Regions from separate parts of the Homo sapiens genome. Here regions 1, 3, 4, 5 and 6 are each linked to region 2. The links are contacts of gene promoters, found by promoter capture Hi-C in blood cells and fetal thymus (Javierre and others, 2016). All regions are on one chromosome and are shown on one strand. Each heading gives the region's core, a stretch centred on a gene start or on the middle of the fragment in contact. The rest is flanking DNA. Distances are from core to core; before and after follow the strand shown.

Region 1 (3,743 bases), core at 892-3,391, 470 kb before region 2:
CCTAGGTTGCCCAGGCTGGTCTGAAACTCCCAGGTTCAAATGATGCTCCCACCTTGGTCTCCCAAAGTGCTGGGATTACAGGGGTGAGCCACTGTGCACAGATTAACATTTTTTATGAAAAAGTGGTTCACACCACTGTAGAGAAAAGCCCAGGATGAACTATTCAGAGTGCTCGGCCCGAGAAGCAAGGGAGTAAAAGGGGTATAACTTGCATTTTTCTTCTTTATATACTTAAGCAGTGTTTGATTTTTTTTTTTATTTCTTCCTTTTTTCTGGAAAAAAAAAAAAAAAAAAAAATCTGGAGGGAAAATGTTCTGAGCACCTGCTCTCTGAGTCAAAATTCAGTACTAAACACTTTACTGTCACAGATTATTTCATTTAATTCTCACAAAACCCTACGGAGTACAAGAATGCTCAGAGCAGCTTTATTCACAATTGTCAAAAAAAGGGAACCAATCCAAAAGCCCATCAACAGGAGAGTGAGCCAACTGTGGTGTATTCATACGAGGCAACACCGAACAGCAATAAAATGAACAAACCTCTGGTACATGTGACAGTGAAGAGGAATCTCACAGATAGGCTGAGCAAAAGCAGCCAGACACACAAGAGTACCTATGATTCCATTCAGATGAAGTTCAAGAACAGGTAAGATCAACTGATGATGATCCAAGTCAGAACTGTGGTTACCCCAGAATTATCTGCAGAAAAATGACACAGGTCAGATAATCAGCCTACAGGCATATAGCAGGCAGGTAGTAGAGCTGGGATTCAGACAGGTCTGTTGGACTCTGCAGTCTCTATTGGCCCCTGACTGCCCAGAAGGATGCCTTGAATCTCCACCTGCAGAGCCTTCTGGGCCCCTCTAGAGGCAGTCTCGCTCCTGGCTTCAGATGTGGGGACCCCCTTATCCTCAGCGCTAAGCACACATCCCTGTGGTTCAGTCACTAAGGGAAGCCTGGCTCTCCAGAAGCCTCAGCTCATGGAGAACTGCTGCTTAACTAGCAAGGGGACAGCAGCCAGGTCCACGACTCAAGCTCTGGGTCTGCTGGGAGCAGGGGGCAGGAGGAGGACTGCTCTGTGCCAAGGGAGGATGCCCAGTGCACACTCACCACTCCTAACTAGCCCTGGCCCACAATAAGGGAATTTCCAAGCAGAGCTGGGCCTGGGCTTGGCCCCGCCCACTGGGCCACACTGCCTCACACTTTCCCCAGCTCTTGTTGACCCAGAAAAGTCAGACCCTGCCAGTCACCCTAACCCCTCTCCTCAACCGAGGATAAGACCAGGAGTTTTGAGGGACTCAGCTCCCCCAGAAGCACCTGCATCTTCCTGCTCTAAATTCCCAGCCCTGCCCAGGCTTCCCTCCCTCCCCTCTGAAGGGAGCCACCACCTGCTGCTTGGCACGGATACCCCTCTCCGGCTACATCCTCTCCACTCTCCCCTCAACTCCTACACAATCCCCGTCCCAAACAATTTCCTGCAGTTTCCCATCTGATCAGTTTCTTAGGAAGGATAATTATCCATGGAAGGAGGAGGCGGAAAATTCCCAGAGCCAAGAACACTGGGGGAAAAGCTTCATCTAGTCCCTTCTCCATCAGCCAGGAGAGCCCTCATCCTAAACACAGGCCAGTCATGGTCATGGCTCCTCCAGAACCTCTGCAGTTCCCCCATCTTCAGGAAAGAGCCCACACTTCTCTGCATTGAATCCAAGGCCCTCTTGATCTGTTCTAACTTAGGTTTGGGCCTCGTTGCCATTCCATTGTAAGTGGTAGTGCCAGATGGAGCCCCATCTGCCCCCAGGGCCCACCTGCAACGTGCTGTGTCCCTGCGGCACTTCAGCCTGCCTTGTGTTTTAGTTGTTTACATGTCTGTCTCCCACACACAAGTGTCAGTGCCAGCGCTTCCAGGGTGGGAACCACCAACCACGCAACTGTGTCTGCTGCATGGTAGGTGCTCAGAGGCAGGCTGAAAAGAAAGTGGGACAGGCAGGAGGCCGCCTCACCTCTGCGGAGGGAACGATGTGGGAAGAAGGACCACTTATAGCATCACAGGAGAGCCTGGACTAGAGGTCGGGGAGCTGAGCTCAATGCAGCTCTGTGGCCCTTAAGCAAGTCACTTCCGCCCTGGCCTCTGCTTCCTCTGTGAGCTGAGGGGGATGGGCCGGGCTCTGTCATCATGTCAGACATTTAGAAGCCCTTACTGCTAGGTGCTCGCCTCAGCATTCTCATTTAACCTCCACACCTTTGCACATGGGGACCACAAAGTTGCAAGTGGGGGAGGGGGGTTTCAGTCCTGGTCTTTTGATTCCCTAACCCCTTATCTTCTCCTCCTGGACTTCTGCAGTCTCTAGGATCCCTCCCAGTGCTAAAGTCTGGTTCTGATTCTAGGTCTGCCCTTTCCTGACCTGACAACTCCCCAGGCCACGACCATAGGGTTCAGCAGGGAACACGCATGTCCAACCCTGGTGTTCAGCAATGCCACGCCTCCCACATGACAGGTCTGGTGACTGTTTGCCTGCAGGCGCTGAGGCTCAGCAAGGGAGGGGTGGCCAGCAGGAGTCCAGCAGAGCCTGGTGCCCACTCAGCCCCTCCCTCCCCAATGTGCCCCTGACTCCACGCCCACTCTGCTCCAGCGTCCTGCTCGCCCCTCCCTGCTAGCAGCTCTCCTAGGCTGGAGCTTCCATCCCACTGCTGGCTTGGCCAGTGGTGCCTGTCGGGAAGCTTTACTCTGTTGCCCTCATAGACCCAGCTTGAGCTGCTGGCAGGCAGGACACTGAGTGGGGCCAGCCCAGGGCCTGAGCCGACTCTATCGCACTCCCAGGCTGTCCGCACATCCCTCCCCAGGTCAGACCATGTCATGCTACTCAAGAGCCTTTGATGGTGCCACACAGCACCATGAATCCTAGCCCCAGGCCCACGGGCCTGGCATGATCTGGCCCCTGCCCTCTTCTCCATTCTCACACCATGCTTCCCCTCTTCCCCCGCACTTCAGGTTCCTCAAGCACACCCCCCTCAGGGGCCCTGGTCTTTGGAAGATGAGCTCTTCTTGTCCTTTGGGTCTCAGCTCAGACACCAGCTCCTTAGAGAACCCTTGCTGGCCATCCAGCAGCCCCACCTCTCCCTCATGTCTGCCTTCTTCAGGACACTTACCACTACCTGACACTGCTTTGTCCACATCCAATGCTCCATGCTGGCATGGGAGCCCCCTGACATCAGGAGCCTCTTCTGTCTTGTTCCTGGCTGTGTCCTCAGATCCAGAATAGTGTCTGACATGGGGGTAGAGGCAGCTGGTGGGGCGTGTGCTGCCCGTTAGACTGGACAGTCAGGGAGGCCTCTCTGAAGAGATGACGTTTGATCTAGGGCCTGAAGGAGAGCACCGGCGCGAGGCAGTCTATGGGCAGTGCTCCAGGCTGGGGATCGAGCAAATGCCACAGCTGTATGGAGGAACAGGCCTGGCAAGGCAGATGTGCGTTAGGGACACAGGAAGGCCGGTGCGACTGGAACAGGGAAAGGGTAGTGGGGCATGAAGTGGAGAAAGGGGTGGGCCACACTTTCCTTGCATTTTCTCCCAAGTTCATCAGGAAGCATTTGAAAGGTTTTCAGCAGGGGAAACACCATGCTCTGGTTTACAGGTCTCAAAGCTCCCTGCGGCTGCTCTGGGGAGAGCTGCCTGCAGGCAGACAGCAGTGGAGCCGCAAGACCATTCAGGAGGCCCGGGAATCACCCGGGTTGGAGAAGATGGAGTGA
Region 2 (3,585 bases), core at 504-3,003:
GGGGGTCAGGCTGCTGGGGAACCCCCCCAAGCTCCCATCAGTCCTCATCCCCAGCCCCCAAACTCTGGGTTGCTGTCCCTTTTCCTGTAGAACAGGAAACAAGGTTATTTCCTAGACTCAGAGCCAGCCCCCTGCCCCTCTGGCTCTGCCCGGGGACCCAGACCCAGCAGGGGAAGGCGCCCTCAAGCAGCGAGCAGAGATTCAGCAATTCACCCCAGCTCCCTGCCTAGGGGGCTGACAGCTGTCACTCAGCACCCCACCCCCTGGGGAAGAGGGGGCCGATTCAATCAGAGCCCCAGAGGAAACGCATTGATAGGCGATTATTTATTTATTTATGCAAAAGTGAGCCGACTTTGTTCGCCAGGTAACCGGGCACGCGGCCCAACCCCTCCAGCCCTAGCCGCCCCCAAATCCCTCCTCCGCCCCACACCCCCTCCGGGTCATTAGGTCCCCGCCCCTCAACTCCCCGAGAGCCAGTGGATCCTAGGGATTTGGGGGTTGGAGGGGAGGGGCTCCTCCCTCCGCAGTCTCCCCTTTTCCCAGCGCCGATCCTAAAATCCAGCCTTGTTCTCCGCTCCCACGGTCCCCCCTTCATTCCCCCCCCCCCCACATTCTCAGCAAGCTGGAGAGCAAATTGCAGTTTTAAATCCAAAGGCGGAGGGAGGGGGAAGGAGGAGGGGGCGCGCGGCAGCGCTGGGCGCGCACCTCGCCCCCGAGCCGGGGGAGCCGCGGGGCGGCCAGGAAACCCGAGAACCCCCCCTCCCCGCCCCCCCTCCCCGTCCACCTCCCCCTCCCCCTTCCCGGCGCTGCCTGCCAGGCTTCGAGCCGAGCCCAGCCGAGCCGCGGGCCCCGGTGGAAACAAAGACCGATCGCACCGCGGGCACCGCAGCCACCGGGTCCAGCGGACCGGACCGGGGGACGCAGGCCCCCCCCGTGCGCTGCACAAAAGAGCCTGGCCGGCCGGTCCCCAGCGGGGGTCTGGGGCTGGGGAGGAGGCGCCACTCACCGGAGTGCTGGGCTGCCGGCTCCGTGGGTCCGAGCCAGGCGAGGGGTTTTGGGGGACGTCTGTCTTCCGGCGGTGGCAGCGACGCGGGCGCCCGGCTGCTGAGGAGAGGAGTCGTGGAGGAGCCCTGAGCCGCCCGCCGTCGCTGACAGCATGGCTCGCGCCTCGGCTCACATTCTCCGCCGCTAACTCCGCTGGACACGGCCCCCCGCTCCCGCGGCGCCCCCCCACCTCGATCACTCCTTCGCTCTCTCTGCGCCCCCCTCGCCCTCCCGCCGCGCACACACTCTCCCAGCCCTGGACACCCCCGCCCCCACCCCCCCCAATAGCAAACCTGGGAGGGAACGCGCCCCGCGTAGTCCTCCTGCTCCTCCTCCTCCGCCCTCCTCCCTCCCGCTCTCTCTGGCTGTCTGTCTGTCTCTCAGACTGTCTCTATTTCTCGCTCTCTCTGCCTTTCTCTGCTCTCCAAGCTGGGTGGGAAAAGGAAATGAGGACAGAAAGCAGACGCTGGCTTTGGGTGGTGGTAGCTGGATTCCCTCTCTCCCTCCCTCCCCCTCCTCCCCTCCCTCCTCCTGCCTTCTGCTCTCTCCGCTGCGAGCGGGGCTGAGCGCAGCCTGGCGGGTGGCTCGCTCTGCCCGCCCGCCCGCCTGTCTGTCTGTCTGGTCCGCCTCGCTCGCTCCCTCCCTCCGTCTCTCGCCCTCGCCCTGCCTGCCTGCCTCTCTCCGTCTCCGCCGCCGCCGCCGCTGCCTCTGCGAGCTCGCCTTACCTTCGCCGCTCACCATCCGGAACCCCAGGGGGGAGCGCGCGCGCGGCACGCCGGGACTTGTAGTCCCCGCCCCGGCCGCTCCGCGCGCGGGGAGGGCGGGGCCGCGCCGGCTGCTCCGACGGCGCGGCCAGGAGCCCCGGGGACCCCGCGCCTGGGGCTCGTCTGGCTGGAGCGCGTCCTCGTTTACCAACGGGCGAAGATCCTCCCCAAGGGTTAAGAATGGTCCCTGTGTTCCTTGTCTCCACCGGGGGGCTCTGGATCGAGCGGAGGTTGCGGGTGGGAGTGAAGGGGCGGGGTCTGAGAGTGGAATGGGAGTGGAATAGGGAACCAGGGGATTAGCCAAAGGGGCTGCGACTTTCTGGGGCGTCCCAATTAAATGGGAGGGGGAGAGGGCAGAGGAGAGGACCGGCTCTCTCAATCTGGGGACGTTATCCTTTTCTGAAAAGGTTTCTTATTGAGTAAAGCTCAAGTATATATGGCGGGAGGGCTGCTGGGGCGGGGGAGCGGGGGAGACCCAGCCAGCGCTGCTTCCTCACTCAGTGACCCCTCCTCTCAAACTCCGACCTCGGTTTCGCCCTTGCAACTCCCAGCTTTCCTATATGTCCAAGGGCGGCGAGGGCTCAAAAGTCCTGGATAATCCGCAGATAGAACACACACACCCTTTTCCGAATTCTGCTGAGCATTTGCGTTGTGTCAGGAAGCAGGATTCAGATTGAACGGTGCTGACCTCCTGCCGCGGCCGGGGGCTGGGCTCAGCACTTTCACCTACCTCCTCTTCAGGTCACATGTGTTCTCCAGCCCCTGCCTAGCCTATCCCACAGATGGGAATGTGCGCTGCTTGGGGGCCTTGTTACCGCCCCCGGAGATGGCTGAACTGCTGCGGTAAAATAGTGCTGTTATTTCCATTTTAGAGATGGGGGCACTGAGGTCCAGGTTCTCCAGTTAGCAAGTGGCTGAACCCAGCTGGATTTGAACCAGGGTCTGACTAACTCCAAACCCCACAAGCTTAACCCCTGGGCTATGACAAGGAGTTGTGACTCCCTCCATTTCTGTAACTGACCTTCTCTCCCTGTGTCTGTGTGTCCTTTCTTGGCACTTCAACAAATGTTAACTGAGGTATGCAGGGCTTGCAAGGGACACGGAGATGAATAATGCATAGTGGCTGTCGTGTCCTGTGTCCTAGGTGTCTACCAACGCCGGCCCTGACTGGCCCTGCGGCGGTCCCACCTCACTGGACCACCTCATCTGTGTGTCTGATGTTCCACACCCTGTGTCTGCTGGCCTTGTCTATCTTGCTCCAGGTCTGAAGTTCCTAGAGCAGTGCCTTTGTCTCTGGCCTACCTGTTTCTGACTCTTCCTTTGGCCTTGCAGGGTGTTGGCCAGTGTGTGACAAAGGCAGCTGGTGACATTTTGCCAACCGCAACTCCCTGGTCACTATCTTCCCCACACCTTCACTCCTTCCAAGCTCCTTCTCTATGGCAGTCCAGTACCCCCAGAGGACAAGAGAGGGGATCTGGGGAACACTCTCTATTGGCCCTTGGCAGAGGGTGTGTGCAGCAGTAATAGGAGAGGTCTAGGGCTCTAAACGGGACACTATTGATTTGGCATCATGGGGCTGCCATGACCGACTGGAGAGGCCCTCATCTTGGAGCAGCTTCTCCTTGCAGACAAGTTAGGACTTGGGTTCAAAGATTTATTCATTGAATGGGAAATATAAGGTCAGATGCTCATAAAAGTAGTGGCTAAAGTCATTAGAGATTCTGCAGCTCCAAAGCCTGGGCCTGAAGTGATCCCAAATAGATGAGGCTTTGGCACC
Region 3 (3,255 bases), core at 319-2,818, 370 kb before region 2:
TGGGGAGCTGCAGATAGATGATCTCAAAGCTTTCTTCTAGTCCCAAAGTCTATGATTTTTTATATTCAGTAGAACAGCTGTGGTGGAGAGTTCAGGGGGAATGACCCACAATATTTTTAGGAGAAAGGCATAAAAGGCTTTGTGAGCGGTTTCACAAGGATAGGTTCTTACTCCTCTAAATGGGGAGAAATCTCCCTTGCGGAGAAATCACCAGCAATTAGAATACTACCTTTGTCTCTGGGAGTATTCAGGTATTCACAGACAAATTCGTACTCATGATGTGAGCAGAATTGGAAAAAAAAAAAAAAAAAAAAAAAAAAAACAAGCGACACATGGAGTGATAAACACTATAAATGCCAAATACATATATTCAGTCCTTACTGAGAGCGGGTGCTGTCTGGTTTTCACAGGAAAGACAGGCAGTGTTAAAAGGCTCAGACTCTGGTGTCAGGCAGATCTGGGTCTAATTCCCAATTTGCCAACTTATCAGGACCCCGGGGGCAAGTTGCTTTTAGCCTTTCTGCTTCAGCTTTCCTTTTCTGCAAAACACAGACAGCAATAGTACCTAGCTAAGAGACTGTACCCAATCCAGTGCGAATAAAAGTGAATTATTGTTAGTATCTGACAAATGGCACCCTATGGGTGACAAGTTTCCTTTGTCAGAAGGTGACACGTCTTCCCTTTCTGACTTGAGGTTTCACGGGTGGGGCCTGGTCTCTGCCTTAAGAAGATAGGCTTAGTGCCACCCTTGTCACCTTGGGAACTTCCTTAATAAAGAGGAGGGTCTCTCCTCCATCAGACCCGGGACTCCACAAGGCTGGAACTGCGTCTCTTCCTCAGAGGTGGGAGCAGCAGTGACTCCGCTAGGGTCAGATGGACCTAGTCGCTCCCATCACCCCGAGGGCACCCAGAGTGTGTGTGGCTGACTCCTCTCCAGGCTACTCAGCGTAGGCCCGATTCTCTTTCATTCTCTTCCTTAAGGCCCAGGAGACGTCAGTGAGGACTGTGCCACTTCAGCAGCCCCCCAGAGCAGGAAGGAGTGGGCTGAGGAGCCCCCCGGGGCCCTAGCCTGAGAGGTCCCAGAATTCGGGGGCTGAGAGGAAGTCTTAGGAGCTCTTAAGGGGCTGTGAGGGGACCTGGGGTTCAGTGGGCGAGCGTGTGGGCGGGTGTCCCAGAAGCGGTGTGAGGAGCGTTTTACCCGGTGGTGGGGTGGGAGGTGCGTCCGGGTAACTAATGGCAACCGGGCGGGGTGAGCCCGCTCTGCAGGAACTCCTCGACGGCGAAAAACTACGACTCCCAGGGTGCCCCAGGGCTTAGCCCAGCTTTCCCGCCCGCCCACTGGCTGCCGGTCCCGCAAGCGGCGAAGCCCATTGGCCACGGCGGTGCGGGGCTCCCCCACTAGCAGGTTAGTGGGCGCCGCCGGCAGCAGACGTTGACCGGGCGCGGGGGGGTAAGTGGGGGGGCCCGGCTAGCCATTCTGGAAGCGGCCGGGCGCAGTCTTCGTAGCGTACCCGCCGGCTGCGAGGCGCAGGGCGGAGGCGGAGACTGCGTGGCGCAGGCGCGTTGCTGGGCTTCTCCTGGGTCCCCAGACAGCTGGAGGAGATAAACAGAGGAGGAGGAGGGAGGGGAGTGCGTGTGTGAGAGCGCGCGAGGGAGTGTGAGTGTGTGTGAGCGCGGGTGTGAGGCGGTGCGCAGGGGCGGGCGGAGGCGCTGTCCGGCCCCGGCCAGGCGCCGGGCGGGGAGCATGGGAAGGGGCTAGAACTGCTCGAGCCCCCCAGCCCCCTCCCCGGGATCCGCGCCCCCCTTCCCGGGAGAGGGGCCGCCCCCCCCGGACGGACATGGGCTCCTGAAGTTGCGCCGCTGCCGGTCGGGGGAAGAGACCTGACAGGTACGGGTCACCGCCGCCCCCTGCCCTCCGCGGGCGCCGAGGCGGGGACCGGCTCCCGCAGCCCCGGTGAACGGGCCGCCCGCTCTGGGCCGGCTCCAGCCCTGCCGGCCTGGGGGCCTGAGCCTACCCGCCTCGGGGCCCCGGGTGTCCCGAGAGGGGCCAGGCCTCGCCGGGGCGGAGGGCAGAGTGGTCCGGGGGCGGGGTGGGGGCGGAGGGTTTGGTCGGGACGCGGGGGGAGGCTGTGGGAGTCCGGGGAGGCTCTGCGGAGGGAGAGGTGGAAGTCATTCCATCATGGGACTTTTTTGCGGAGTTTTTGTTTGACATCTGATCTGGCGCCGGAGTCAGGAAGAAGGGGCAGGTGTAAGTGCTGGGAGGGCAACGCCGACCTGACCTGCCCTCTTAGCTTCTCGCTCTCTCTCTTTCTGTTTTTCTCTCTCTCTTTCTGTGTGTGTGTGTGTGTGTGTGTGTGTGTGTGTGTGTGTGTGTCCACAGCAGATGCCTTCAGTGGCCCATCCTGGCACCAAACAACTCTGCCAAGGTGTTTCCACCAGGCGACTGTAGCACCCCGTATACAAAGGGCCTCTGCTTGGGAACGGGCTATTCAGTACCCACTTCAAAGGGTAAATAGGAAGTGAGGAGATAGAAGAGAGACTGCGAACCAGCAGGATCCACTTCTTGGACTGAAAGCCGCAGTGGGACGCCCCTTTGCCAGATTGGTTGACTTTGCTTGGTGGCTTGGGCTCTCTCTCCTCTGCGGGTGTACTCCCAGGGTTTCTAGAGGAGAGGTACAGGGGCCTGTAACTAATGTCTTAATAGCCGAATTTGACTGTTTTCCCCAGAGTTCTTTTCTTCTGTGACTTTCTTTAACCTCCTGAAGTACTGGTAGAGCAACGTTATAGTTTTTCTCTCAAGTTGGTGATTTTAGGAGCCTGGTAGGGTGGCTGAAGCTTCCCCATTCATTCCAAGGATGGGGTAGATGATCTGGGTAAAGTGGCAGTGAAGTCTTCCCTTTCTAACAAAGCCTGAAACCGTTTTGAGAAGAAACTATTTTGAGGGCAGCTTCTGACTCAAAGACGTTACGAAATCCCCACCTAGGACACCGGTATGCCCAGTGGTCCCTACTAAGCTTTTCTGTGTCTTTTAGAGTCGTTGAGTGGCCAGCTTCTGCTCACTGTACTGAAGGAACTACTTAATGCTATTTCTGTCTTGAGTTCTGGCTTATTCTTCCTTGTGATTCTTATATCTTTAGCGGGATTGAATTGAATTTTTGCTGTTGAGTGTAATAGCCAGATCCTCTGTAACAGACCAGGGAGTAACTAGTTGGGCTCCTTTGGGCCAAGTCTGAGACTTACTGAGGTTTCTTCATT
Region 4 (3,666 bases), core at 697-3,196, 320 kb before region 2:
CAAGGCTCCTCCTGAGAGGATCCAAGGAAAAGATTGGACCCAAATGAAAAGAGACTGCTGCTGTCTGCCGTTCTTCAGCTTAGCCCATAATTTTCAACACAATTAAACAATCTCAGATAGATGGAAAGTTGGATGACCATCCAAACCCTGTTTTGTTTTGTTTTGTTTTGTTTTAGAGACAGAGTCTCATTCTGTCACCCAGGCTGGAGTGCAATGGCGTGATCTTGGCTCACTGCAACCTCCGCCTTTCAGGTTCAAGCGGTTCTCCTTAATCAGCCTCCCAAGTAACTGGGACTACAGGCATGCGCCACCATGCCTGGCTAATTTTTTGTATTTTTAGTAGAGACGAGGTTTTGCCATGTTGCCCAGGCTGGTCTCAAACTCCTGAGCTCAGGCAATCCACCTGCCTCAGCCTCCCAAAGTGCTAGGATTACAGGCATGAACTACCGCGCCCGGCCCAAAACCCTGTTTTTTTAATAAGCCAATGTGTTTAAGAATGATAGAAATTTCTTGGCCGGGCGTAGTGGCTCACGCCTGTAATCCTAGCACTTTGGGAGGCCGAGGCGGGTGGATCACGAGGTCAGGAGATTGAGACCATCCTGCCTAACACAGTGAAACCCCGTCTCTACAAAAAAACAAAAAATTAGCCGGGTGTGGTGGCGGGCGCCTGTAGTCCCAGCTACTCAGGAGGCTGAGGCAGGAGAATGGCGTGAACCTGGGAGGCGGAGCTTGCAGTGAGCCGAGATCGCGCCACTGCACTTCCAGCCTGGGGGACAGAGCGAGACTCCATTTCAAAAAAAAAAAAAAGAATAATGGAAATTTCTCAGGACAAAATAGAAGAGAATCAGCTGTTTACAAGGCAACCTTAAATTCTGTGACATTTACTGTTCTTCAAATTCTGTAACCTAACTCCTTGTAAACTGAGAACATGGGATGGGGAAAGGGAGCCTAGGAATTTGAGGAGAGATCACAATCCCTCACTCTGCTTTCAGCTTGCTGGCCTCTGGTTCCGATGACCAGCACACGATTGTGTGGGACCCGCTGCACCACAAGAAGCTGCTCTCCATGCACACGGGACACACCGCAAATATCTTCTCTGTCAAGGTGAGCAGGACAAGCCACAGAGCAAGCACAAGCCACAGATCAAGCACAAGAGTGACTGGGCTGTGGCCACGCCATGTTGGTATGTGTGTGTCCCATATACCGTCTAGGGTCACAGACAACCTTATGATCTAAGTATCTGTTGGTGATTCCTGAAACCTCATTTCTCTTCCATGTTCTTCTTCCTCTTTTAGAGCTAAGCGGCCAATTCTAGATGAATTTATCTTTATGTGAATGGTAGTGGTGGGGGTATGGTTCTGAACGTGAACTTAGAGAGCAGGCATACCTGGGTTTGACTCCCTTATCTGCTTCTTGGGCATTGTGTGACCTGGGCAAATCACCTGACCTGTCTGAGCCTGTTTGCTCATCTGTAAAAAAGGAAGCAGCGAAGGAAAATCTCCCAGATTTGTAAACAAATTAATTTTTTTAAAAGGAAATAACAGTCTACAAGGTTGATGTGACAGTTCAATGAGATAATTGATAAAAATAAAGTCTGTGCCCAGTGCTTTTTATCTGTTCTACCCCTTCATAGGAAATGAATATTTTGATTTGTTGGAGGAGGGGAGTTGAGCGGAGGAGAGGTGAGAAGGGGACTTACAAGTGTCTTCAGACCTTTGAAGCTCTGTTGAAGCCCTGGAAATGACATGAGACATGTTTTTTTGTTGTGGAAAACAGACCTAGGACTAGTGGCTGTAAGTCCACAGAATTAAATGTGGGCCTGAGGAAAGAAAGAACTGTCTAATGCTTAGAGCTCTTTGAAAAATGTAGAATGGGCCCCTGGAGGAGATGAGTAAATGTCCTATCCCTGCACTTGTCCACTCGCCAGGTGCTTTATCTCCAAGATTTAAAGTTGGAAGAAATGGCCTGCAAGGAAGGGCCTTTCCAGCTCTGAGATTCTATAATGGATAGATGTGAGAATGAAGTTGTCCTTCGGAAACCCTCACTATTCTAAGAAATATTTTCGTAATTAATATCAAGAGGAATTACAAGATACCTGAACAAGATGATAGCTCCAAACCTACTTGTTTTCCTAAACCCTTTTTTCTTCTCAAGCTATGATTCTCGCCTTTAGAGACAGAACAATGATGATTTACCTCTTATATGACTAACGGAAACTGCTTTCTTCCCCTGCAAAGAGTTTAGGTCCAATTTTAGTCTGCACAGTCAGGCCTGGGGAAGGGGACCTAAGCCATTAGTTTAGCATCAGAGCACAAGACATTGATTTCTAACACCAGAATTTCATAATGGTCTTGATACTCCCTAACGGTAAGACCTTGGGAACGGCACTTACATGCAGACTGTCAGCCTCCTCTTCTATTTAAAAAAAAAAAAACAACCTGAAAAGGATTCTTCTTTCTTTAGGTAGTGGAAACACTGCAGATGTATATGTATTTAACTCATGCGCTCCCCCTGGTGGTGACTATGGTGTGTGATGCGTGTGGCAGCAGCCACAAGATCATGACAAGGGCTCCCCAGTTTATTTCTGCTGTGCATTGAGTGTATGCCGTCTCTAGACAGGATTAAAGACTACTGGTTGTCCCTAAAATAATTAAATCATGTCTATTTCATCTAGACCTTGGTCTTTTTTTTTTTTTTTTTTTTTTGAGGGTGAGTCTTACTCTGAATGTCGCCCAGGCTGGAGTGCAGTTGGCACAATCTTGGCTCACTGCAACCTCCGCCTCTGGGTTCAAGCGATTCTTGTGCCTCAGCCTCCTAAGTAGCTGGGATTACAGGTGTGCACCACCACACCTGGCAGATTTTTGTATTTTTAGTAGAGATAGGGTTTCACCATGTTGGCCAGGCCAGTTTCGAACTCCTGACCTCAGGTTATCCACCCACCTAAGCCTCCCAAAGTGTTGGGATTACAGGCATGAGCCACAGTGCCTGGCTAGACCTTGTTCTAATGGCCCTTAGAGAAGCCTATGTGGAAAGAGTGAATTGTTGTTCTTTGTGAACATTTAAAGTCAAGTGGGACATCAGCTGTTTCAGTGTAGGACATTGCCCCTCCCCCAACACTACCACTCAGCCTTGTTGTGGGTAGGGAGGAACTTTTCAATTTTAAAAAAAAGATATTTCAATTTTTTGAACTCACACGAGAATTCAACACCACTCCCAAATATTTTTTATCCTCAAAGTTATGTGATAGAACTACATACTTTCTTTCTTGTTTCTTTTCTTTTTTTTTTTTTGAGACAGAGTCTCGCTCTTGTTGCCCAGGCTGGAGTACAGTGGCAAGATCTCGGCTCACCGCTGCCTCAGCCTCCCGAGTAGCTGGGACTACAGGCATACACCACCACACCCGGCTAATTTTTTGTATTTTTAGTAGAGACAGGGTTTCTCCATGTTGGTAAGGCTGATCTTGAATTCCCGACCTCAGGTGATCCACCTGCCTCCGCCTCCCAAAGTGCTGGGATTACAGGTGCGAGCCACAGCGCCCAGCCCAGAACTGCATACTTTCTTTTTTCATTATTTGAAGCTATGGTTGCAGCTGTTTTTTTCTTATCAGATGTCATCTGGAGTATTTTGTTCTTGCCTTTATCAGGATGGTGGTTTTTTTTTTTTTTT
Region 5 (3,249 bases), core at 549-3,048, 300 kb before region 2:
GTGACTTTTAAAGAGAGGACCCCTATAGGCTTCCCCATTGAGAGGAGAGGAGAAAGAAAGATGAAGCAAGAGTTGTGGCAACAAAACAGAATGGGGTGGGGAAGTTGTATCTGCCCCTTGTCCCAGGTATCCCAGTATGTGTGTCCAACATATCCTGGTGTGTACTGTCCCCCACGTATATCCCAGCATGTTATGACCTGCCTGTATATCCTGAGGTGGCGTATCTCCCATATATATTCCAGCGTGAGCACCCCCAACAATATGTAGCCAAGGTTGTGTGTTCCCCTCCACCATATACACCTCCTGGCATGTATGTGTACCTCCCCCTATAGATAGTTTAGTCTGTGTATTTCCCTCCCCCTCCCCTATACGTGTACCCTGGTGCCTCTCCCTCCCTGAGCCCCACGTGTGTCACCCCTTTCTCCACCACAGAGTGAAGACCTCACAGGCCGAGTCGTGGAAGATATGGAGGGTGCTTCACAGGCCAACCAGCGGCGCATGAATGCAGACCCGTTGGAGGTGATGCTGCTCAACATGGGCTACCGGATCACGGGCCTGAGCAGTGGGGGTGCCGGGGCCTCTGATGATGAGGACAGCTCTGAGGGCCAGGTGCAGTGCCGGCCCAGCTAGACCCTCCAGCCCTGGTCCCCAGCCCCTGCTACTGGCTGGACCCTCTGCCCTGGGCAGGAGGTCAGGGGATTCTGTTTTGGTTTGTCTTCCCCACCACCCTTTTTTTTCATTTCCCCTGTTTTGTTTGTTAGTTTGGCGTTAGGGGTGGAGGTTGCTACAACTTGCTGGCTTTCGGACTCTGGGCTGATTGTCCCCTGACTATCCCCAGCCCTGAAAAAAAGAGCAGGAGGGGACACCCCTCCATATGCCCCCCCCCATCTCCTGCTTTCATGTCCCTGGAGGGCTCTGGCCTGCCTCAAAACCCCTTCTGCCTCAGGTGGGGAGGAACAAGCTGAACTGTCTTCAGGGACTGTCCTGCCCTTTAGCTGGCAGCAGCAGGAGGAGTGGGATTCCCAATTGGTAAGGGCTCGCCTTGGCCTGTTGCCACTCTTGCTCCCTAGCCTGCAAGGCTAGCTCCCCTGTGGTCTTCAGGAAAGGTTTTGAAAAAGGATGGGTCCCACCCTCCCTCCAGAGCCACCAGTGTTAGAGCGGAGCCCAAAGGAAGGATGGGAGCCCTGGAGTGGGCAAGACCAGGCCACCTGCTGAGGTCGCTGTGGAGCACCCTCGCTCCTCTCCTGGCTACTAGCTCTGGCCCTGCACCTACTCTCACTGGCCACCTCTGGAGGCTCTGCCTTTCCCAAGGGCCCTGGCAGAGGGTGGGGCACTGCACCTTACCCCACCCATCCATGCCAGCACTTCTGCACTACGGCCATTCTCCTCTTGGGCGCTCCTCAGCCTCACTGTGACCTTTCTGCCAGAGCTCCCAGCCAGGCCTACTCTGCTGAGGTGGCGCTTCCTGCTAAGGGCCCTTCTCTGCCCTTTCTGCCCTCCTTCCCATCCCACATGCTGAGCCGCCACAAAGACCAAAGAAGTGATGGCTTTTCTCTGTCCCCTGCTGCTCTGAGGGGAGAGGGGTGGGTCTCCTGAGCCACTCAGATGGGAAAGTCCCTTACTCGGCCCCTCCCTCCCCAGCAGCCCCAAGCTTTACACTGGATGCAGCGATCAACCCACCACTCACCAGGCCTCTCCTCCCCTCTGCCCCCGGCTCTTAGCTCCAGCTGCTCCAGGTAGTTGGTTCATCCTTCCCCCTCTCTCCCTCCCTGCTTCCCCTTCAGTGCTTACTTGGCTCCAGCCCTCCAGCTGCAGCCCCTGGGGAAAAGCAGCCTCCCTTCTCCTCTCCCTCCACTCCCTCGCTCCCTCCCTCAGCCCCTGTCTCTGCCAGGTGCCTCCTCTCAGTCAGGCTTCAGAGCAGCCCTGGAGACAGGAGGGCCATGTTAAAAGCTTTTTCACAGTTTTAAGAAGACAAGTGGAGGGTGAGGATAGTGGTGGGGGGTCTGGCACCATCTCATTGCTTTAATCCCAGCAACACAGGTGGCAGCTTCTCCCCCTTCCTTCCCACCCCAGTCCCTCTTCCCACCCCTCTCTTCTAGCTTGGTAATGAAGTATATTTATTGGTGAAGGAAACAGCTGCTGCTGCTTCTCCTGCTGCTGGGACCTGCTCCCCTGTCTCTTCTCCGTGACCTTTCTCTAGCCAGGGAGAAGGGAGAGCAGGAGTATTGGGGCTGGGCCCTGGGGCCCAAGGACCAGCTGGGTCCCCTTTGCTTTCTTGTGTTCCAGCCACCTGCCATTTCCTCCCTGCCTCCCACCCTCCCTCCCTGCCCCCTGTCCTGCTTCCCACCCCCTGCCTGCCCAGCCTGGGCCCTGCAGTGTGGAGAGACACATAAGCCTTACTGTCCTCTGGGGGCAGGAGCCGAGCCTTTTTGTTGCTCCGCTCCCAGGAGAGTGAGGGTGACGCAATTGATTAAAACCATTTTGTTCTAGGTGTGGCTGGTGGCATTTGTGGGGTGCAGATGGGTCTTGGAACCAAAGTGAGGGCACCTGGTCCCTCACCTCTGTAGCTCTATGACTTAGTAACCACACCTCTACTGGACAGAATGAGGCCTGCCTTGAAGGGTCACCGTGAGCAGCGGCCACCCAGCCCAGCAGGGCTGAGTGCAGAGCCCAGCTCTCATGGCTGTGATTTGTAATCATCAGCTTTCACTCTCTGGCTGTTTTCTCATCAGTAAAATAAGGGACTTGGAATCTTAGTGGTTTTTCAAACCATTTTACATTGTGACCCAATATACACATGATTACTTGTAGATATGTGTGTGTGTATATATATATAAAAAAAATGAACAAAAGTTTTACACAATAATATTTACCCTTGCTACATGCAGTGTACTCTGCTTACCCTTCTGTTTTATTAGGGAAAAAAATATGGCTATAACCCACTAAATTGATTTCACATATGCAAGTTTTTGAAGTGCCCTGGATTAGATAATCTCTTAGACTATAGGTTCCTGAACTTTCTTAGCTCACAGCACCATTACCATCTCAGTAATTTTTTCATGGAGCCTCTAAGCCAAAAGAAATAACAGTTCAATTTATTAAGTAGTTAAGTCCAAATCACTTAAAAAGTATTTATGTCCTAACAAGTTAGTTGCCATTTAAAAAATAATACACCTGAATTGGAAGAAACAATATTTATTTCATTCTTTTTTTTTTTTTTTTTTTTTGAGACGGAGTCTTGCTCTGTTG
Region 6 (3,588 bases), core at 1,089-3,588, 260 kb before region 2:
GAGAGATGGCTGGAAGTATCAGCGTCAGGGAGTCACAGCTATAGGAAGGACAGGAGAGCAGAGAAAGGAAGGGAAATTTAGAAACCCGAAGACCAGATAATGAAGTTTCATGCCTTCCAGGAGGAAGAGCTGCTAAGGAGGTGAGAGGAGGGCAGAGAAACATCCTTGGGGGCGCCAGGACCAGGATGGCAGGAAGGGGTGTGGATGTTCTTGGCCACTCTCCTTCCATTTTGAGGGCCTTAATGAAGGAGGCAGCATCACAGTAATGGTCCCACAGCAGCTGCTCCATGGGTATTGCATGTGTGGGTGCATAAATGCATTAATCAAGAGTACTGGGGTCTGGGCAAGGTGGCTCACGCCTGTAGTCCTAGCACTTTGGGAGGCTGAGGCAGGCAGATCACATGAGACCAGGAGTTCGAGCCCAGCCTGTCCAACATGGTGAAACCCCATCTCTACTCAAAATACAAAAATTAGCCAGGCGTGGTGGCGGGCGCCTGTAGTGCCAGCTACTCGGGAGGCTGAGGCATGAGAATCACTTGAACCCAGGAGGCGGAGGCTGCAGTGAGCCAAGCCAGCCTGGGCGACAGAGCAAGACTCCATCTAAAAAAAAGAAAAAAAAAAGTCTGCAAGGATCTCACTGAATTTTAGTGAAAACCCTCTAAGGAGAGATTACCCCCATTTAACAGATGAGAAAAATAAGATTAATTTGCAAAAAATAAGTAGGGAAGCCTCCACTGTGGTTCTGAGGTGGAGGAGGGTCCTCTGTCTCTCAGTGGTGGTGGGAGTCGGTTCTGATTACAGGAAGGAAGAGTGGGTGTTTAGTTTTCTTTTCTTTTCTTTTCTTTTTTTTTTTGTGACGGAGTCTCGCTCTGTCGCCCAGGCTGGAGTGCAGTGGTGCGATCTCGGCTCACTGCAAGCTCCACCTCCCAGGTTCATGCCATTCTCCTGCCTCAGCTACTCGGGAAATAGCTGGGACTACAGGCAGCCGCCACCACGCCCAGCTAATTTTTTTTGTATTTTTAGTAGAGATGGGTTTTCACCGTGTTAGCCAGGATGGTCTTGATCTCCTGACCTCGTGATCCACCCGTCTCGGCCTCCCAAAGTGCTGGGATTACAGGTGTAAGCTACCACGCCCAGCCTTGTTTGCTTTTCTGAGACGGAGTCTCGCTGTGTTGCCCAGGCTGGAGTGCAGTGGTGCGATCTCGGCTCACTGCAACCTCCGCCTCCTGGGTTCAAGCGATTCTCCTGCCTCGGCCTCCCGAGTAACTGGGACTGCAAGCACCTGCCACCATGCCCGGTTAATTTTTGTATTTTGAGTAGAGACGGGGTTTCACTATATTAGCCAGACTGGTCTCAAACTCCTGTCCTAGAGTGATCCGCCCACCTCGACCTCTTAAAGTACTGGGATTACAGGCATGAGTCACTGTGCCCAGACTGGTTTTGTTTAGAATCCACCCCTTGTCCTGCCTCTCCCAGGGGTCTATGAGGAGCCCACTAATCTTTAATCCATGGCCCTAGGTTCAGGGGAGGGGGTTGGGCCAGGGCAGGCCATGGGAAGTGAAGTGGACTTGGGGGGAGTCAGAAAGCTTTGGTGTGGCCTCTTGTGCCCAAGACAACCCAGGAGGTTCATGGTCCTGAAGCCAATGTAATCTAGGGCCCAAACCTTCTAATCTCAGGGTGGGCAGAATCTAGGTGTAGAATGGGGTGAGTTCAGGGGGGCTCCACATAGACAGAGGGTGTGGGACCCTCACCTTGGCACTAGAAGAGTTCAGGCCTCCTCAAACAGATGGGGCTCAGGACAGCAGAGGGGACAGAGAGGGCTGCTCTGCCAGCATGTCCCAGAAGTGCATGTGGATATAGAGGGCAGCAGCTGCTGAGATGGCCGTGGGCATTAGGCTATGCTGGAGTGGGGACACCTCACCCCGACTATGCCAGCTCGCACCGGGCACTTTCACTTCCCTTAGTATAGGCTCCTTGCACTCTGCTACCCACAGTTTGCATCAGAAGAAATGGAAGAGACCTGCTTAAGGTCACATCACACACCCACTGGCAGAGCAGGGACTCTGCACAGGGTGGTCTAACTGCAAAGTCTGCCATCCTGCCATTCCCCTTGGGGCTGGAAAAGAAAGGTTTCTAACTTGCTTTCAAAGCGAGTTCCTATCAGCCCCGTTGTGGGCAAGGTGGGGCTGCTACCCGTTCTAGAGGGCCTGCTCAGTGGAGCTGGGGCCAAGCTGGGCCTCTCCAGTCGGCTGCGGGGGCGCACCCCCGGGCGCTGGGAGTCCAGGCCCGGTTTTGCATCAGGCCCTGCCGAGGTGTTTCCTCCTCCTCCGTGTGGGGCAGCTGCTGGCTGGGCTGCCTGTTGAGTCAGCCTTCTTCCCTCACGGCTCTTCTCCCGGTCCCTGAAACTCGGCTGCCAGGGGAGCTGGAGCCACCTGCGAAGGTGTCCTCCCATACTGGACCCCTACAGGTAACACGTGTCGGTGCCAGGGTCCCCTGCCAGGGTCCAGAGACGCAGGCACTGCCACCTGGTATCCTGAGCACCCTCCAGCACCTTGGGGTTGGGGGAGGTGGGCACATGTCTGGAACTGGAACAGCTGGACAGATGGACAGACCCTCCTCTTGACCAATGGGTCTGTCCCACCGTGTCAAAACAGCAGAGAAGACCAAACTCCTACCTAACTCTGGTAGGAGATTCTGCCTCTGGTTGGTAGGAGAGGGGACTTCAGGGAGGGGGCACTGCTGAGGACGCTGGGCTGATGCCCATGGCCCAGCTCAGGCAGGCCTGAAGGACAGAAATAGGCTCAGTTCTGCCGAACGTCCCCCCGGCCTCCATCCACACTCAGACACACACACCTGGTGGCCCCCAAGGCACCAGGGGACACCCCACAGCACACAGCCCAGTCACACATACAGCACAGGAGGAAATGCACAATGCATACTGTACACACCCCACACGGCGCTGTCACCTAGAAAGTCACTGAACACACCACACAGACAATATAGTCACCATGCAGCATCACACTGCAACAGGACACAAAGACACACAGCAACTACACAGCTCACAGACTCACGCAACGCAGACATGCCCACCAGACTCGGACCCACACAGCCACACAACAGGGCACAGAGAGGGACGTGGGCTCACACCCCAATCCACAGGGGAGGCCGAACGTGGGCTCACACCCCAATCCACAGGGGAGGCCGAACGTGGGCTCACACGTTGGCCACAGAAGTCCAGGGAAACTGCTGTTGTGGAGCACACAGGTATCCACAGAGTGAATGCACACCGTGCAGCCGTGCTGAGGCCTTCTGCTCCTGAGGGTGTCAAGAGGGATCGCTGGGGCTCGGCCACTGACTCAGCTGGGAGGGGACAGAGCATAGCAGGCGGCGGACACAAGCCAGGACCTGCCCGCCAAGCTGCCTCCGCCGGTCTCAGCCCCACCTGGAGCCGTGGCAATGGAAGGGGCGGGGAAGAGAGGAGAGGCCGCCCAGTGGGCTCAGGACACAGCCCTGACCAAGTCATGGGCCCCTTGCCACGTCTACATGCCCCTCAGCGCTGGGCAAATGCTTTCTTTCCGGAGTCACTGT

What was found. Contacts are between HindIII fragments. The CHiCAGO score rates a contact against its expected background, and 5 or more counts as called.
Region 1: a contact is called between a fragment that was not itself captured here and the fragment with the promoter of AHDC1 in region 2, in 1 of 17 cell types (total CD4 T cells). The highest score is 5.1, in total CD4 T cells.
Region 3: the fragment with the promoter of WDTC1 here is called in contact with the fragment with the promoter of AHDC1 in region 2 in 7 of 17 cell types (erythroblasts, non-activated CD4 T cells, fetal thymus and 4 more); the score reaches 6.0 in erythroblasts.
Region 4: a contact is called between a fragment that was not itself captured here and the fragment with the promoter of AHDC1 in region 2, in 2 of 17 cell types (naive B cells and total B cells). The highest score is 5.2, in naive B cells.
Region 5: a contact is called between a fragment that was not itself captured here and the fragment with the promoter of AHDC1 in region 2, in 7 of 17 cell types (naive B cells, M1 macrophages, M0 macrophages and 4 more). The highest score is 7.7, in naive B cells.
Region 6: the fragment with the promoter of SYTL1 here is called in contact with the fragment with the promoter of AHDC1 in region 2 in 16 of 17 cell types (endothelial precursors, naive CD4 T cells, naive B cells and 13 more); the score reaches 14.8 in endothelial precursors.

The regions. Positions count from the first base shown.
Region 1 is chr1:27,135,250-27,138,992 of GRCh38, forward strand. All of the region lies in intron 1 of SLC9A1 (solute carrier family 9 member A1), which reads right to left. Among named protein-coding and RNA genes, the nearest start is that of SLC9A1, 18 kb to the right of the region's middle. RefSeq lists enhancers at 595-664, 2,261-3,072. The HindIII fragment of the contact is 1,147 bases long and covers 1,569-2,715 here.
Region 2 is chr1:27,602,391-27,605,975 of GRCh38, forward strand. It overlaps AHDC1 (AT-hook DNA binding motif containing 1), which reads right to left and starts at 1,754. Exons shown (of 9, transcript NM_001371928.1): 1 at 1,716-1,754; 2 at 1,338-1,473; 3 at 1,007-1,104. RefSeq lists an enhancer at 396-445 and silencers at 929-1,008, 1,559-2,098. The HindIII fragment of the contact is 3,248 bases long and covers 1-2,772 here.
Region 3 is chr1:27,233,064-27,236,318 of GRCh38, forward strand. It overlaps WDTC1 (WD and tetratricopeptide repeats 1), which reads left to right and starts at 1,569. Exons shown (of 16, transcript NM_001276252.2): 1 at 1,569-1,888. It overlaps WDTC1-DT (WDTC1 divergent transcript), which reads right to left and starts at 1,366. Exons shown (of 3, transcript XR_947117.2): 1 at 1,199-1,366; 2 at 382-539. RefSeq lists silencers at 1,389-1,448, 1,649-1,798, 1,989-2,038, 2,199-2,248. The HindIII fragment of the contact is 2,806 bases long and covers 28-2,833 here.
Region 4 is chr1:27,282,346-27,286,011 of GRCh38, forward strand. It overlaps WDTC1 (WD and tetratricopeptide repeats 1), which reads left to right. Exons shown (of 16, transcript NM_001276252.2): 5 at 993-1,104. Among named protein-coding and RNA genes, the nearest start is that of TMEM222, 38 kb to the right of the region's middle. RefSeq lists a silencer at 2,440-2,519. The HindIII fragment of the contact is 7,577 bases long and covers 1-3,666 here.
Region 5 is chr1:27,305,754-27,309,002 of GRCh38, forward strand. WDTC1 (WD and tetratricopeptide repeats 1) reads left to right here. Exons shown (of 16, transcript NM_001276252.2): 16 at 433-2,883. The coding sequence ends at 630. Among named protein-coding and RNA genes, the nearest start is that of TMEM222, 15 kb to the right of the region's middle. RefSeq lists enhancers at 1,503-2,028, 2,029-2,554, 2,555-3,079. The HindIII fragment of the contact is 299 bases long and covers 1,650-1,948 here.
Region 6 is chr1:27,339,684-27,343,271 of GRCh38, forward strand. SYTL1 (synaptotagmin like 1) reads left to right here and starts at 2,339. Exons shown (of 15, transcript NM_001193308.2): 1 at 2,339-2,467. RefSeq lists enhancers at 1,960-2,219, 2,750-2,799, 2,974-3,588. The HindIII fragment of the contact is 10,600 bases long and covers 1,585-3,588 here.